Linked DNA regions of Homo sapiens: region 1 is linked to region 2. Evidence: promoter capture Hi-C in 16 types of primary human blood cells and fetal thymus (Javierre and others, 2016). All regions are on one chromosome and are shown on one strand. The core of a region is centred on a gene start or on the middle of the fragment in contact, and the rest is flanking DNA. Distances in the headings are between cores, read along the strand shown.

The links. The method cuts DNA at HindIII sites, captures the fragments that hold promoters and counts their contacts. A CHiCAGO score of 5 or more calls a contact.
Region 1: a contact is called between a fragment that was not itself captured here and the fragment with the promoter of RNF183 in region 2, in 2 of 17 cell types (erythroblasts and megakaryocytes). The highest score is 6.5, in erythroblasts.

What each region holds. Positions count from the first base shown.
Region 1 is chr9:113,419,981-113,427,227 of GRCh38, forward strand. It overlaps C9orf43 (chromosome 9 open reading frame 43), which reads left to right. Exons shown (of 14, transcript NM_001278629.2): 5 at 1,123-1,223; 6 at 2,569-2,605; 7 at 3,346-3,518; 8 at 4,186-4,336; 9 at 5,039-5,096; 10 at 5,364-5,440; 11 at 5,663-5,750. Among named protein-coding and RNA genes, the nearest start is that of C9orf43, 13 kb to the left of the region's middle. The HindIII fragment of the contact is 3,270 bases long and covers 3,914-7,183 here.
Region 2 is chr9:113,301,622-113,308,247 of GRCh38, forward strand. It overlaps RNF183 (ring finger protein 183), which reads right to left and starts at 1,755. Exons shown (of 5, transcript NM_001371237.1): 1 at 1,435-1,755; 2 at 574-692; 3 at 51-130. RefSeq lists enhancers at 4,026-4,195, 5,961-6,130 and a cis regulatory region at 6,046. The HindIII fragment of the contact is 12,929 bases long and covers 1,636-6,626 here.

The sequences.
Region 1 (7,247 bases), core at 4,299-6,798, 120 kb after region 2:
AGCGTATAAGGAACTGAGATGGTAGATGGTTTTGAATGGATGAATTGACTAATCACTTTACCTCTTTGACTTCTTTAGAACAAGAGGATTAGATTAAATAATAATAACAACAATAATAATTATTATTTTAAGAGACAGGGTCTTTCTCTGTCACCCAGGCTGGAGTGCAGTGGTATGATCATGGCTCATTGTAGCCTCAAACTCCTGGGTTCAAACCATCCTCCTGTCTCAGACCCCTGAGTAACTGAGACTACAGGCACACACCACCACACTTGGCTAATTAAAAACTTTTTGTAGAAACAGGGTCTCACTATGTTGCCCAGGCTGGTCTCAAACTCCCAGCCTCAAGCAATCCTCCTACCTCTGTCTACCAAAGTGCATGAGTTGTCATGCCTGGCCGAGATTAAATTATTTTAAGTTAATTATTTGAAGAGATAATGTATGAACATGATTTTTAAATTCAAAAAGCATTAAAGGATTTATAATAAAAAGGAATCTCTCCTATTACCTCCAAGTCCATCAGTTTGTCTTCACAGGGACAACCTTATTTTGAATAGTTTTTTCGTGTGTGTATCTTACCAGGAATATGGACTAGGTGATTTATAAGATTTCCTTGAGCACTATGTTCTAGGATCCTAAATAGCTAAATGTGAGAAGAGTTAGCCTTTGACTTTTATATAAATGCCTATAATTGTAGTCAGACTGTAAAAGAAAACACCTTGCTTCTGTTTCTATCAGTTCTCTTCCTGCTCCCAAACTGCAGATTGTAATGTCTGTGGGATCTAAGTCTTTGGAGTGGAGTGGGCAGGATAAGTAATGTTCCTGTAGGTAAGCCCCAGGGCACCCTCATATGGGATTGGATTGGGAGTTGCTAAATGCTACCCTAATGGCACAGGGAAGCAGGGGAGATTATCTGCTTATTAATACTCACTCTTGCAGATACCTATACTGATATTTGATGGAGTAGTCTGTTTTTTTTGGGAGAATATTATGAAGATATCTTGAAGATGGGAAACTTAAAATCATCTTCTGTGCCACCAGACTCTTTGCTTAGCATATCCTTAATCTGATATAGGAGCTTAGCACCTCAAGCCATACATAGGCTTTATATCTTTCTCTTAGTTTCCAGTGTTGAATTTGAATGAGACGCAACTTCCCTGCCCTGAAGATGTTAGAAATATGGTTGTATTGTGGATCCCAGAAGAAACAGAGATACATGTGAGGTGAGTATCATATCTGGAACTCAGAGGACTTTGACTCTATAAATCCCTGATGTCTTCTGCAGCGTCCTTTTTGTGATCTCCCATTTAGCCAGCTCATTGCAAGTAGCAGGAGGCCAAGCAGAGAAGGTCGTGGTCTGTTGCATCTGCCTTTTGCTACACTGGAATTTTAATGTAATGCATTTTGAGATTCATGCTGTGGGACTTCTCCATATCAAATTTTACACGGCAGTAAATAGCATACAAGATAGGGCTCAACTTACTTATAAGGCTTGACTAAGAAATAAATGCTCTCTCTTAGTTTTTCTTATTAGCCACTTGCAACAAGTGAAAAAGTTCTCAGTGAAGCATGTGAATCTCTGTTCTCAACCCCAGGGCCTAGTACAGTGTACAAAAGCAATAGCATATAGGACTTGTGTACAAAAGAGTGTGACAAAGACCATTTGGTGAAGGCCCAAAGGCTTGCTAATATTGACAACCATGGGGAAAGTGTTTGGTTCTTCTTTCCTGATCCTTGAGGCTTTCAGGTTCTTAAGTGACATTTAGAGATGATGAAACTTAAGAATTTCTTTTTATTTCTTTTGTTTTTCTTTTTAAAAAATAATCCTGTGAGTGCTTCTCTCTATATATATGCATTTGTGTGTGTGTATATATGGTATAAACAAATGAAAAACAACCCTAAGGGTTTATTTCCTTTCGTGTGAAAGAAGCTCAGAAGTAGGCAGGCTAGGTCATGTGAGCTCCATGAGATAATTAGAAACCAGGGCTCCTTCTAGCTTTTTGGGCCGTCATCCTTAGCCCATGGATTCCAACTTCTAAGGAGTTTCATGGCTGCTTTTAAGGTATAAGTTGGCTACTAGAGATCCAGCTATCATATCCACGTCCCAGGCAAGGAGGAAGAGGTCAGAGCAAAAAATACTTCTTACCAAACATCTCTGTGTCAAGCAGTGAGGATTTAGTGAACCAAATAGATTTGGTCCCTGTCCTGTTGGAGCCTTGTCAGGGGGAGTCAGCCATTACAGACATAACCACACCTACATATATCATTTCTAATTTGGATTCATGCTATGAAAGTAGGTAACCGGATTGCCTGAGAGAATAATGGGAAACCTAATTTAGATATGAGGATGGGGGGTCTTTTTAGCAGAAGGTACTTGGGCAGCAGTTACTGCTGGGTTCCCAACCAGCTATCTTTGAGTACTGATCAAAGATAGGAATCTTTGTGGTCATCATTCACAAATATCCTTGGAGCTTCTGTTTAAGATATCTGGGAATAAGTTGTGCTTACTCTTATTTCAAGTCCAGCTGAGAAGCATGTTTTGTTTTGTTTTGTTTTGTTTTTCTCCAGCCAGCATGGGAAGAAGAAAAGAAAGAACTCGGCAGTGGTGAGTTTGATGTTTTTGTGCAAACCTTTATAATATTGCTATGTAGAGTTTATTTTGTTTTCCTTTCAGGTCTCCTCCACCTTACCCCCGTTCTTTCCTGAAATGATCCAAATCTGCTAAAGAAAACCCTTCTTTAGGAATAATTAACCAAACCATTCTCTATTCAGAGACTCCTTTTTTCTGTCTCCTTCCTATAGGGAGATGAAGAGCACCTTGAGATAATAGGAGGAACTGTTGCGTGTTCAGGGGGGGAGTTTTTGGTCAATTAAAAACGAATCCCCAACGTGATCATATAGAATTTCAATGGACTAGGGGTTATAAGACCTGGGCTTCTAACTCTAATTGTACCATTTATGAGTAAATGTGACCTTGGATAAGTCACTGTAAGACTGCTATGTCCATGAGAGTAGTGTCTTGGTTCATTTTGTTCATTGCTGAATCCCCATCCCTAGCCCTGTGCCTGACACATAATTAGACAATAAATTTTTGTTCAGTTTGTTGAGTGAGTAAACGAATGACCTTTCTGGAAAATGAAACAAAACAACGAATCCCTGTATGATCTGAATACAACAACAGAGTTGGGAGCTTGAGAGGGAAACATGTGGCGGCCCTCATCGTTCAGAGGAGGCAACCATGGCTGGAGTACATGCCAGGGTAGTGTTGAGAGGCTAGAATGTTGATGGAAAGGACTAGGCTAAAAAGAATGCTTTGGAGAATTCTTTCCATTGTTTCTCTTCCAGAAAAGCAAGTCATTTCTGGGTCTCTCTGGAAATCAGTCCGCAGGAACACGAGTAGGAACACCAGGGATGATCGTGCCTCCCCCAACCCCAGTGCAATTGTCTGAACAATTCAGTTCAGATTTCCTACCTCTCTGGGCTCAATCCGAAGCGTTACCTCAGGATCTACTGAAGGAGTAAGTATCATGTAGGTCTGTGGGAGAGCCAGAGCACCTGCTTTTTACTGAAGCTGGGATGGGTCTAAACAGTGTGCTTTTTCTGAGTAGGACTGGGAGAAAACTATCACCCCGATTTGTTTACTGAACTCTTGGACTTACCAACAGGCAGGGATGACCATCATAACCACCACCATTTGTCACACTTACCATTTGCCTGGCCCTGTGCTAGGCATATCACATGTACTTTCATTTAAATTTGCACTAGGAGGTAGGCACTATCACTGTCTTCTTTTTATAGGTGAATTATGAATAAGTGGTAGGCAGAATATGTGGTCTGCAGTGAGATGACCTTTGAATTTTACATTGAAACTTAACTGGCTATATGAATTTTGGTAATGTATTTAGCCTCTTAAAGCTTCATTTTCCTCATTTGCAAAGTGGGAGTAATATCTGTTCTCAGGTGTTGTAAAAGCACATGAGCCTGACATAGAATCAGCACTGAGTATATGCAGCTATGATGATCGTAGTTGCATCAGAAAAGTGTTACCAAATGAACACTTGTTGGTACAGGCCTTTTCAGACCCAAAGTGGAAATTTCTTGGAGCCCTTTACATCTCTTTCTCCTCAGCCATGCTTTCCGGGAAGAGCTGTTGCTGACTGTCTGGCTGTCCTCTGTCCCCTTCAGACTTTTGCCAGGTGGAAAGCAAACCATGCTCTGTCCAGAGATGAAGATAAAATTGGCCATGATGAAAAAGAATCTTCCCTTGGAAAAGAACCGACCTGACAGTGTGATTTCTTCTAAGATGTTTCTATCTATACACCGCCTCACCCTGGAAGTAAGAGCTAGGAAACAGCAGGGAAGAAGCCTATGTGAAAATTCAAACCCATCTCTCCTCAAATCTGGAAGAGTTGACATTCTATTCCTTATCTCCCTTCTGCCTTTCCACTCTGAACCCATGCCCCAGAGAAGGCTGGGCTCTATGTATGTAAAAGCCAGTCGATGGGGAAGTGTTGAGAGAGCAATGTTCTCTATTTCTTTCTTTTTTTTTTTTTTTTCTTTTTTGAGAGACTGGGTCTCACTCTGTCACCCAGGGTGTAGTGCAGTGGTTGATCATGGCTCACTGCAGCCTTGACCTGCTGGGATGAAGTCATCCTCCTACCTCAGCCTCCAGAGTAGCTGGGACTACAGGTGTGCGCCACCATGGCTGGCTAATTTTTAATTTTTTGTAGAGACAGGGTCTCACTATGTTGCCTAGGCTGGTTTCGAACTCCTGAGCTCAGGTGATCTGCCCACCTCAGCCTCCCAAAGTGCTGGGATTACAGGCATGAGCCACCATGCCTGGCCATGTTCTCTATTTCTTCTGCACTTTGTTCCCCACACCTTTTCCCTTCCTCCGTAGCCCCTGGTACAATGCTGCAAAACACTGGGTTCTTAAAATGTGCTTGTTGACTGGATGAATAAACGCATTTGGGGGATACATTTGGAGAAAGGGAAAGACCTGCAGTAGAGCTTTTCTTTTTCTTTTTTCTTTCTCCAGAGACCAGCACTGCGATATCCTGAACGTTTGAAGAAATTACATAACCTGAAGACAGAAGGTAGATTTGCTGTTGCTGCTGGATCTCTAAGCACCATTTTCTGTTAGCCCACATTTCTCATACTTTAACGTGGTCCAATTCAGTTATATTTGTGGCCACAGTCATACAGGGTCACATGTAGAACTCAGGAAACAATAGTTTCAGGAAGCAGCCCCTCTGGCTTGGTCCTTACCAGGGAGTCACCATTGTGAAGGAAGGCACAGCAGGCATTCCAGTGGGAGAGAGGGGGCTGTTAGAAGAGGATCAAGCTGGCTCTCTGGTCACCAGGTTACAGGAAACAGCAGCAGCGGCAGCAGCAGCAGCAGCAGCAACAGAAGAAGGTGAAAACACCTATTAAGAAACAGGTAGAGTGGCAGTGAGGGGCTTGCTGGGACTGGGAGAGGTCTACAGCCTGGAATGGGAAGGGATGTATGAAAGGTGGGGGTCTCCTTGTTTTCTATCTGGTTATAGATAAAAAGTTCTTGTCTGGTTGTAGATGTTAAATTCCTTCTTTTTGATATTCCTTTTGAAAAAAGTTTTCTTTACTTCCAAAAATCCTAATTTGTTCCTCCTGATGTGGGTTTCAGGAGGCTAAAAAGAAAGCCAAGAGTGATCCAGGGATCCAGAGCACTTCACATAAACATCCAGTTACCACCGTTCATGACCGTCTCTATGGTAAGGGGAATATATGCTTGGTTGGGGGTGATAGGATCCCTGAGGGGTAGGTATCTGAGGGCAGGAAAAGCTAAACATGCTCTTGTCATTTTGAGACCTGCCTTTGTCAGGCACTCAGAGTTTCTTGGAATGCTTCAGTCTGTCTGGTCTCTCATGCACCATCCTTCCCTCATAAATTTGCTAAACAAACAAGCTGAGCCAGATGTCTGCTTCACATGAGGGCTTGAAAGATGACCATGAACATGAATCCCAGTCATCTTTTCCTCAGGTTCTACCTTAGAAAAGGCAGAGCACTTTGAGGATCAGGAGAGGAACAAGCCCAGGTTACTGAAGAGAAAACCCTGAGGGCCCATTTTCCAATGAGGCAGGGAGAGCTGGGGCCCCTCACTAGAACCCCAAAAGAGTTCTAAGGAAGCAGAGCTCTGGGGCCCCCTAACCTTCCTGCCACAAGGTAGAGAGTCTCTGGAGCCTCACGTTAAAATCAACACATTGTCTAGCCCCATCCAGGAGTCAGGGAGCCAACTCTTGTCAGGCAGTTCTTTTGCTCCAGTGCTCATGCTGGACACAAGAATGGACATCTCCCCTTTTTGGAGTCGTTATTATGTCTGAGCTCAGGCATATACTTACCCCTATCCCTCCAAAATTTTTCAACTTGAGTGGAGAATGGGAGGAGGGAGAAAGAATCCCCCCAAACTTTGGAGGATCGTTGTGCCCGTCTCAGACTGGACATTGCTGACTTTAATATGAAAACAACTGTTTAATCATCAGAAAGAGCTCTCCAATCCTGGGGCACTGGGAGGGCTGAGATGAGGTTTCCTGAGAAGGATGTTGCCCTCTTGCTTTCCTTCCCATCTCACTTAGTTGTCTGATGCCAATGATCTGCTCTAACCTGAAGGTTGGAAGGTTCCTGCCCTTCTTATGGGAGGTGGACAGAATCAGGGCTTGGCCCCGGGCAGGAGGTGATGTATCCAAGGTTAACACTCCATCTAGGGTGACCACTACCACTCCCCTGAATTCCGTTCTGGTGCCTTTTGTACCCCTTCCCAATGCCTCCAATAGGAGCAATTTTGCTTGGGTGACTGGGGTGCCTCTGTGAGTCATGTTCATAGAGCAGTGGCCTGTCCTCACTGAGTTGAGAAAGGCTTTATGGAAGAGATGATTTTTGCATTGAATCTTGAGTATGTGTGGGAGTTTTCCTGATATGGGAAAGAACTCTTGAGAGGGAATAGCCTGTGCAAAGGCATCTAGGAGGATCACAGCTGCTCAGGAAACACTGAGCAGTTGAGTGTGGTTGTGGGGTTGGGTATTTAAGGGAGAGTGGTCTATCACACCAAAGAGGTAGGCAGGGGCTTGTATGGACTGCTAAGTCTTTTGACCTTTATCATCCAGGCCAGTGGTGCTCCGCCTTGACTGTACACTAAGACCAATTGTGAAGCTTTTATTTATTTATTTATTTGAGACGGAGTTTCGCTCTTGTTGCCCAGGCTGGAGTGCCAT
Region 2 (6,626 bases), core at 505-3,004:
AGAAGCCCCTGAATCCCAGAGTGTGTTAGAAGCAGATCTTTAATACTTACCAGAGGCCGTAAACTGTATGTAACCTTGACTCATCATTTCCCCCACTGGGAATCGATTCCACGGAAACCATCAAGGACTTCTGCAAAGATGTGAGTAAAGAGATGCCCATCCAGGCGCTGGTTTAACGGTGACGTATGGAGAACTACGTCATCATCCAGTAATAGGACATTGATTAAGTAGATTCTGCTCCATCCATAGGAAGAGATATTATGCAGCCTTTAATATGATGTGGTAAAACTATTAATATGGATATATACCTAGGATATAATGTCATTAAGCGAAAAAGAACCAGCAACAAAACCATATTACCATATAATCCAATTTCCAAAAGTGTGTGTGCAATGGAAAAAATGTCTGGAGAGATAAACAACCAGATATTAGCAGTGGTTATCTCTGGGGGCAAGATTATAAGTTTTTTTTTTTTTTTTAATTCTCTTACCTGAAAATTCTAACTTTACTCCATCCAGTAAGCTTGTATTACTACACGTCAAGATCTCCTGTTTCCCCCCAAATCAGACCTACCTTCTCTGAAGTTCCATGGCCAGAACTGTAAAAGGCTGTCCAAGAGGAGGAAGCATCATTATTGCCTGGATCTTTATCTGTGCTGCTCTCCCAGGGATCCACTGCTGTTTCAGGATCAGCTGGGGAGAGATTCTGGCCATGTATCACCTCCACCCCAAGCCAGGACATCTCAGCTACAGTAAATCCTAAACACCGCCCCAAAGTCATCTCCTTGGTCTATGAACAAGTCATCGCCAAATATCAATTGTCCCCAGCATCACTCCATTGTTTTCAACCAAGAACTGGCATTTCCATAGCACTTCACAGTTTACAAAGGGCCCTGGCCCTTGCTAAGATCTAAGTGTGGTGATCCATCTAGATAGGTTACTAGCCTTTTGGGATTTTTTGTTGTTGTTTGCAGAAAGCCATTTGATACTCTAAAACCACCCTGTGAGAGAGGCTGAATGGGGAGTAGAAAGGTGCCGGCTTTGGAACCAGATTTGGAACAATTTGTCTTGGACAAATGGCTTAACCTCTCTGAACTTCATTTTCCTCTGTAAAAAAGGCTAATCATCCCACTCCTACAAGGTTGCTCTGGGGAAGGAATAGTCTATACGGTGCCCAGTAGAATACGGAAGGCGCTCAATACAGAGTTAGCATGATTATTTTTAGACCCATTTTCTAGATGGGGAAGCCAAGGCTCAGAAGGGTGAGGCAACTTGCCGAAGTCTTCCCAGCTAAAGAGTGGCTGAGTTTGAAAGATGAACCCAGTAGCCTGCCCTCCCAGGCCAGAGTTCACCTGTCGCGCGCTGCACGGCTGCTGCCTCTCTGGACTCTGGAGCCCTGTGACCCGTCCCTCCGCGACCCTCTCTGTCTCCTTACCTGCTCCCTCGGAGCCGCCTCCTCCGCCTCCGTTCGTGCAGCCCTGCACGCATGTGCTTTGTTTTCTGACTTCCCAGGCCCGATTTCCAGGTAGCGTGGGTGGGTCTTATTTGCATAGGTCTTAGCAGCGTTTGGCCAGCTCTCGCTGTTTCAGGTTTTCTTCTTCCTTCTGGTGACTTTGGACCTCCTGTACACCCTGGAAGCTTTGGTTGCTTTGTCTTTCTCCTGTGAGTCACTCTGGCTTTTTCTCTGAGGGGATCAAGTGCGCTCATCCTTGCAGGCCTCTGTTCTGGGTCCGATTGATCTCCTGCCATCCCCTCGGATTCCACTGTCCTCTGTGCGCTGACCTGCCTCGACTCCTGGCTTCTGCCGAGATGGATCCTTCCCTATGCTGAGTCCCTGTAACCAAAATACAGATAGCTCTTGCAAAATACTGACAAAAGCGGCCACTAATACAGCAGAAAAATAGTCGGGAGACGGTTGAGCGTCTGCCTGAAGAGCCAGGGTTCTCAAGCAAGGCACACTTCTAGGTCAGAGTTCAGCCCTCACTGAGAATCCAAACTCCGTTTAACTACCGATGGAGACTTGAGCAAATTAATTAACTTCTGCCAGCCTCAGTTTCCTCACCTGAAAATGGCCATAATAACCTACCTACTTGATCTGTAGATTAAATGAGGTAATACGTGTCGAGATCGCGTAATAACACAGGGCCTGGCAGACAGTAACTCGCTAAATGTTAACCAGAACTATTATTGTTATAACCGGTCTGTTCACGTGGCCCATCTTTTGTTCCCGCTCAAATTCTTTTTGTACCTATGGTCCTCTTTTCTTTCTCTCTCTCTTTCTTTCTTTTTTTTTTTCTTTCTTTTTTTTTTTTTTTTTTAAGACGTAGTTTTGCTCTGTCGCCCAGGCTAGAGTGCAGTGGGGCGATACTGGCTCACTGTAACCCCCACCTCCCTGGTTCCAGCAATTCTCCTGCCACGGCCTCCCGAGTAACTGGGACTACAGGTGCGCGCTACCATGCCCGGCTAATTTTTACATTCTTAGTAGAGACAGGATTTCGCCTTGTTGGCCAGGCTGGTCTCAAACTCCTGACCTCAGGTGATCCACCTGCCTCGACCTCCCAAAGTGCTGAGATTACAGGCATGAGCCACCGCGCCTGGCCCCTTATTTCTTTACTGACATTTTCAGCCATACTTGAGAAATAAACAAGTAAATAAATGTATCTGCTTGGTGATGTAATCAAATGCCCTAGTCCCCGCATTTTGTGTTTTTTTACATTAATTTTTATGTATTGATTTATTTTGAGACAGAGTCTCACTCTATCATCCAGGCTGGGGTGCGGTGGCACGATCACAGCTCACTGCAGCCTCAACCTCCTGGGGTCAAGCAGTCTTCCCACCTCCGCCTCCTGAGTACCTAGGACTACAGGTGCATGCCACCGTGGCTGGCTAATTTTTGTATTTCTTGTAGAGATGGGGTTTCTCCAGGTTGCCTAGGCTGGTCTCAAACTCCTGGGCTCCAGCAATCCACTTGCCAAAAGTGCTAAGATTACACTTGAGCCACCGTGCCCACATTTGATTTTTAAATAGGTAATATATTTACATGGTTGAGCATGTGAATGGTTTGATTTCACAGTGAAAACTGTCTCTTCGCAGCCACCTAGTTTCCCTGGAAATCAAAGTATTATACTATCAGTTTGTTGTGTATCTTTCCAAAGATGTTTTATACATACACAAACAGCATGTCCATGGCAAAACATCTATGTATTCCTTTACCTCCTTTTTACACAAATGTGCATATTATGTACACTGTTCTGCATTTTTCTTTTTTCATTTGATGATGTATTTGAGATATCATTCTGTATTAGTACATAAAGACCTTCTTCGGTTTTTGGCCCAGCGCTGTGACTCACACCTGTAATCCCAGCACTTTGGGAGGCCAAGGCGGGTGGATCACTTGAGGTCAGGAGTTCAAGACCAGCCTGGCCAACATGGTGAAACCCCGTCTCTACTAAAAATACAAAAATTAGCCGGCGTCATGGTGCACACCTGTAGTCCCAGCTACTCAGGAGGCTGAGGCAGGAGAATCGCTTGAACCTGGGAGGCAGAGGTTGCAGTGAGCTGAGATTGTACCACTGCACTCCAGCCTGGGCGACAGAGCAAAAAAAAAAAAAGAAGACCTTCTTCGGTTTTTTAATGGTTGTATCAGATTTCATTGAATGGCTGTACCATAAATCACTTCACCAATCCCCTATTGATCTAACCCCCTCATTATAAATATATAAATATTGAATGAAAGAATAATGCAAAAATGCTGATTTTAAGTTAGCCTAGAATTGTGTGAAAATAAAACTGTGGACTTTGGGAAGTTTTAGATCTCTAAAGAAAATGTCTAAGTAATTCTCCTCTTTCTGAGCTGGAGACGAGGTATATGATCACCGATGGCCTCAAAGTTCCTCTCAGCTCTGGAATTCCCTGCTTTTCGGTGTCACTACTGGTTAACTGAGGTTACTGGGGATTCGAGACACTGATTTAGTCCAAAGAACCTGGTTTGTATTTGAGAGTTTGGAAGTCACGCTTTCTGGCTTGGCAACATAAGAAAACATAAAGAAGTTCATCTACTTTGACCTAATCATGTAATTCCCCAGAAGCATCAAAAAGATATATTTTGGTTGAGTGAGGATATTCATTGCAGTTTTATTTTAATCACAAATGATTGAAAACACTCCAAAACCCCATCAATTAGGTGAAAAACTACATAATCATTTAAAATGATATAGAAAGATTTTCATTGACTTTTAAAAATGGTCACAGTATACTGTAAATGGAGGGGGAAAGCAGCTTAAAAATGGTGCATGTTGGCCGGATACGGTGGCTTACGCCTGTAATCCCAGCACTTTGGGAGGCCGAGGCAGGCGGATCACAAGGTCAGGAGTTTGAGACCAGCCTGGCCAATATGTTGAAACCCCGTCTCTACTAAAAAATACAAAAAAAAAAAAAACTTAGCTGGGCGTGGTGGCAGGTGCCTGTAATCCCAGCTACTTGGGAGGCTAAGGAGGCAGGAGAATCGCTTGAACCTGGGAGGCGGAGGTTGCAGTGAGCCGAGATTGCACCACTGCATTCCAGCCCAGGCAACAGAGAGAGAATCCATCTCAAAAAAAACACAAACAAACAAACCAAAACCAAAACAAAACAAAACAAAAAAACGGTGCATGTTGGCTGGGCACATGCCTATAATCCCAGCACTTTGGGAGGCCGAGGTTGGAGGATTGCTTGAGCCCAGGAGTTCAAGACTAGCGACCCCATTGCTACAAAAAATAAAAAAATAAAAAATTAGCTGGGCGTGGTGGCACATGCCTGTTGTCTCAGATACTCAGAAGGCTGAAGTGGGAGGATCACTTGAGCCCAGAAAGTCAAGGCTGCAGTGAGCCCAGATTGCACCACTGCACTCTAGCCTGGGCAACAGAGCAAAGACCCTGTGAAAGATAGAAAAGAAAAAAAGAAAGAAAAGAAGAAAAGAGAGGGAGAAGGAAGGAAGGAAAGAAGAAGGAAGGAAGGGAGGGAGGGAGGAAGAAAGGAAGGGAGGGAAGGAGGAAGGAAGGAAGGGAGGGAGGGAGGGAGGGGAAGGAAAAGAAAAGAAAAGGAAAGAAAGAGAGAATGTAGCATAAGCCAGATTTTGTAAAGCATAATTTATGTATAAAGACTGCAAGACCATGAGGCAAAATGTCACAATTTTATCTCTGGGTGATGGCCACTCATGTTTTCGCTTTCTTCTTGCTTACATTTTCCAAGTTCTCAAATATGTATTACTTTTGTAGTAAGAAAGTTCACTTAGAAAGTAAGTTAAGTCTGAGTTTTCTGCAACCAGGGTATCCAGAACTTAAAAAGATAAGCAGGTAGGGCAGGTAAGAAGTCAGTCATGACATTGTAAGCATTGAAATAAAAATAAAATAAGTCATAGCCAGGCATGGCCTGTAATCCCAGCACTTTGGGAGGCCGAGGCAGGCAGATCACTTGAGGTCAGGAGTTCGAGGCCAGCCTGGCCAACATGGTGAAACCCCGTCTCTACTAAAAATACAGAAATTAGCCAGGCATGGTGGTGGGTGCCTGTAATCCCAGCTACTCTGCAGGCTGAGGCAGGAGAATCACTTGAACCTAGGAGGCGGAGGTTGCAGTGGGCCGAGATCGCGCCATTGCACTCCAGCCTGGGCGACAAGAGCGAAACTCTGTCTCAGAAAAATAAAATAAAATTTAAAAAGTCATGGCTTTTTTCCAGGTCACTAATTGTCTAGTGAGTCTATGCATTATCATAATGTCTGTGGGTGGTCAGGCTAAGGAGTGCTTTGCCAACAGTGAAAAATTTTTCCAGGGAGATACCCGGGAGAGATAGTGAGGCATCTCAGGAACTTGAGAGTTAAACTAATTTATAAAGTTCATGCTTGTGGGGGCAAGATCAGCCATCTGGAAAAGCACCTCACCTAAGCAGTACCTTAGACCCGGGTGAGTGAAGAGTCATGAGACTCGGTGGAGCCCAGCCAATGTCTGGAGCAGAGGCGTGGGGTGGTTTTAACTCATCTGGGAAGGAAGAGGTGGCAGAGGGCAGAAGGATGGAGAAAAGGTGATGAGTGCAGCAGGTTTAGAATCCGGCATGGTCAGTGTTTAGCAGGCCCCAGTCAAGGGCAGAGGGCAACTCTCCCTAGGGGGCCACCATGTCATCATCACTCAGAGCCTTGCCTGAGGCTTGTCTAGCATTTAGGACAGTTCCGGCAGCATAGGCATCACTTAGAGATTGTTAGAAATGCAAAATCTGGCCGGGCATGGTGGCTAACACCTGTAATCCTGGCTCTTTGGGAAGCTGAGGCAGGCAGATCCCTTGGGGTCAGGAGTTCGAGACTAGCCTGGGCAACATGGTGAAACCCCATCTGTACTAAAAATACAAAAATCAGCTGGGTGTGGTAATGGACACCTGTAATCCCAGCTACTCGGGAGGCTGAAGCAGGAGAATCGCTTGAACCTGGGAGGTGGAGATTGCAGTGAGCCAAAATTGTGCCATTGCACTCCAGCCTGGGCAACAGAGCGAGACTACGTCTCAAAAAAAAAAAAAAAAAAAAAAAAAGAAAGAAAGAAAGAAAGAAAGAAAGAAAGAAAGAAAAACAGAAATGCAAAATCTCAGACCCACTCCAGACCTAC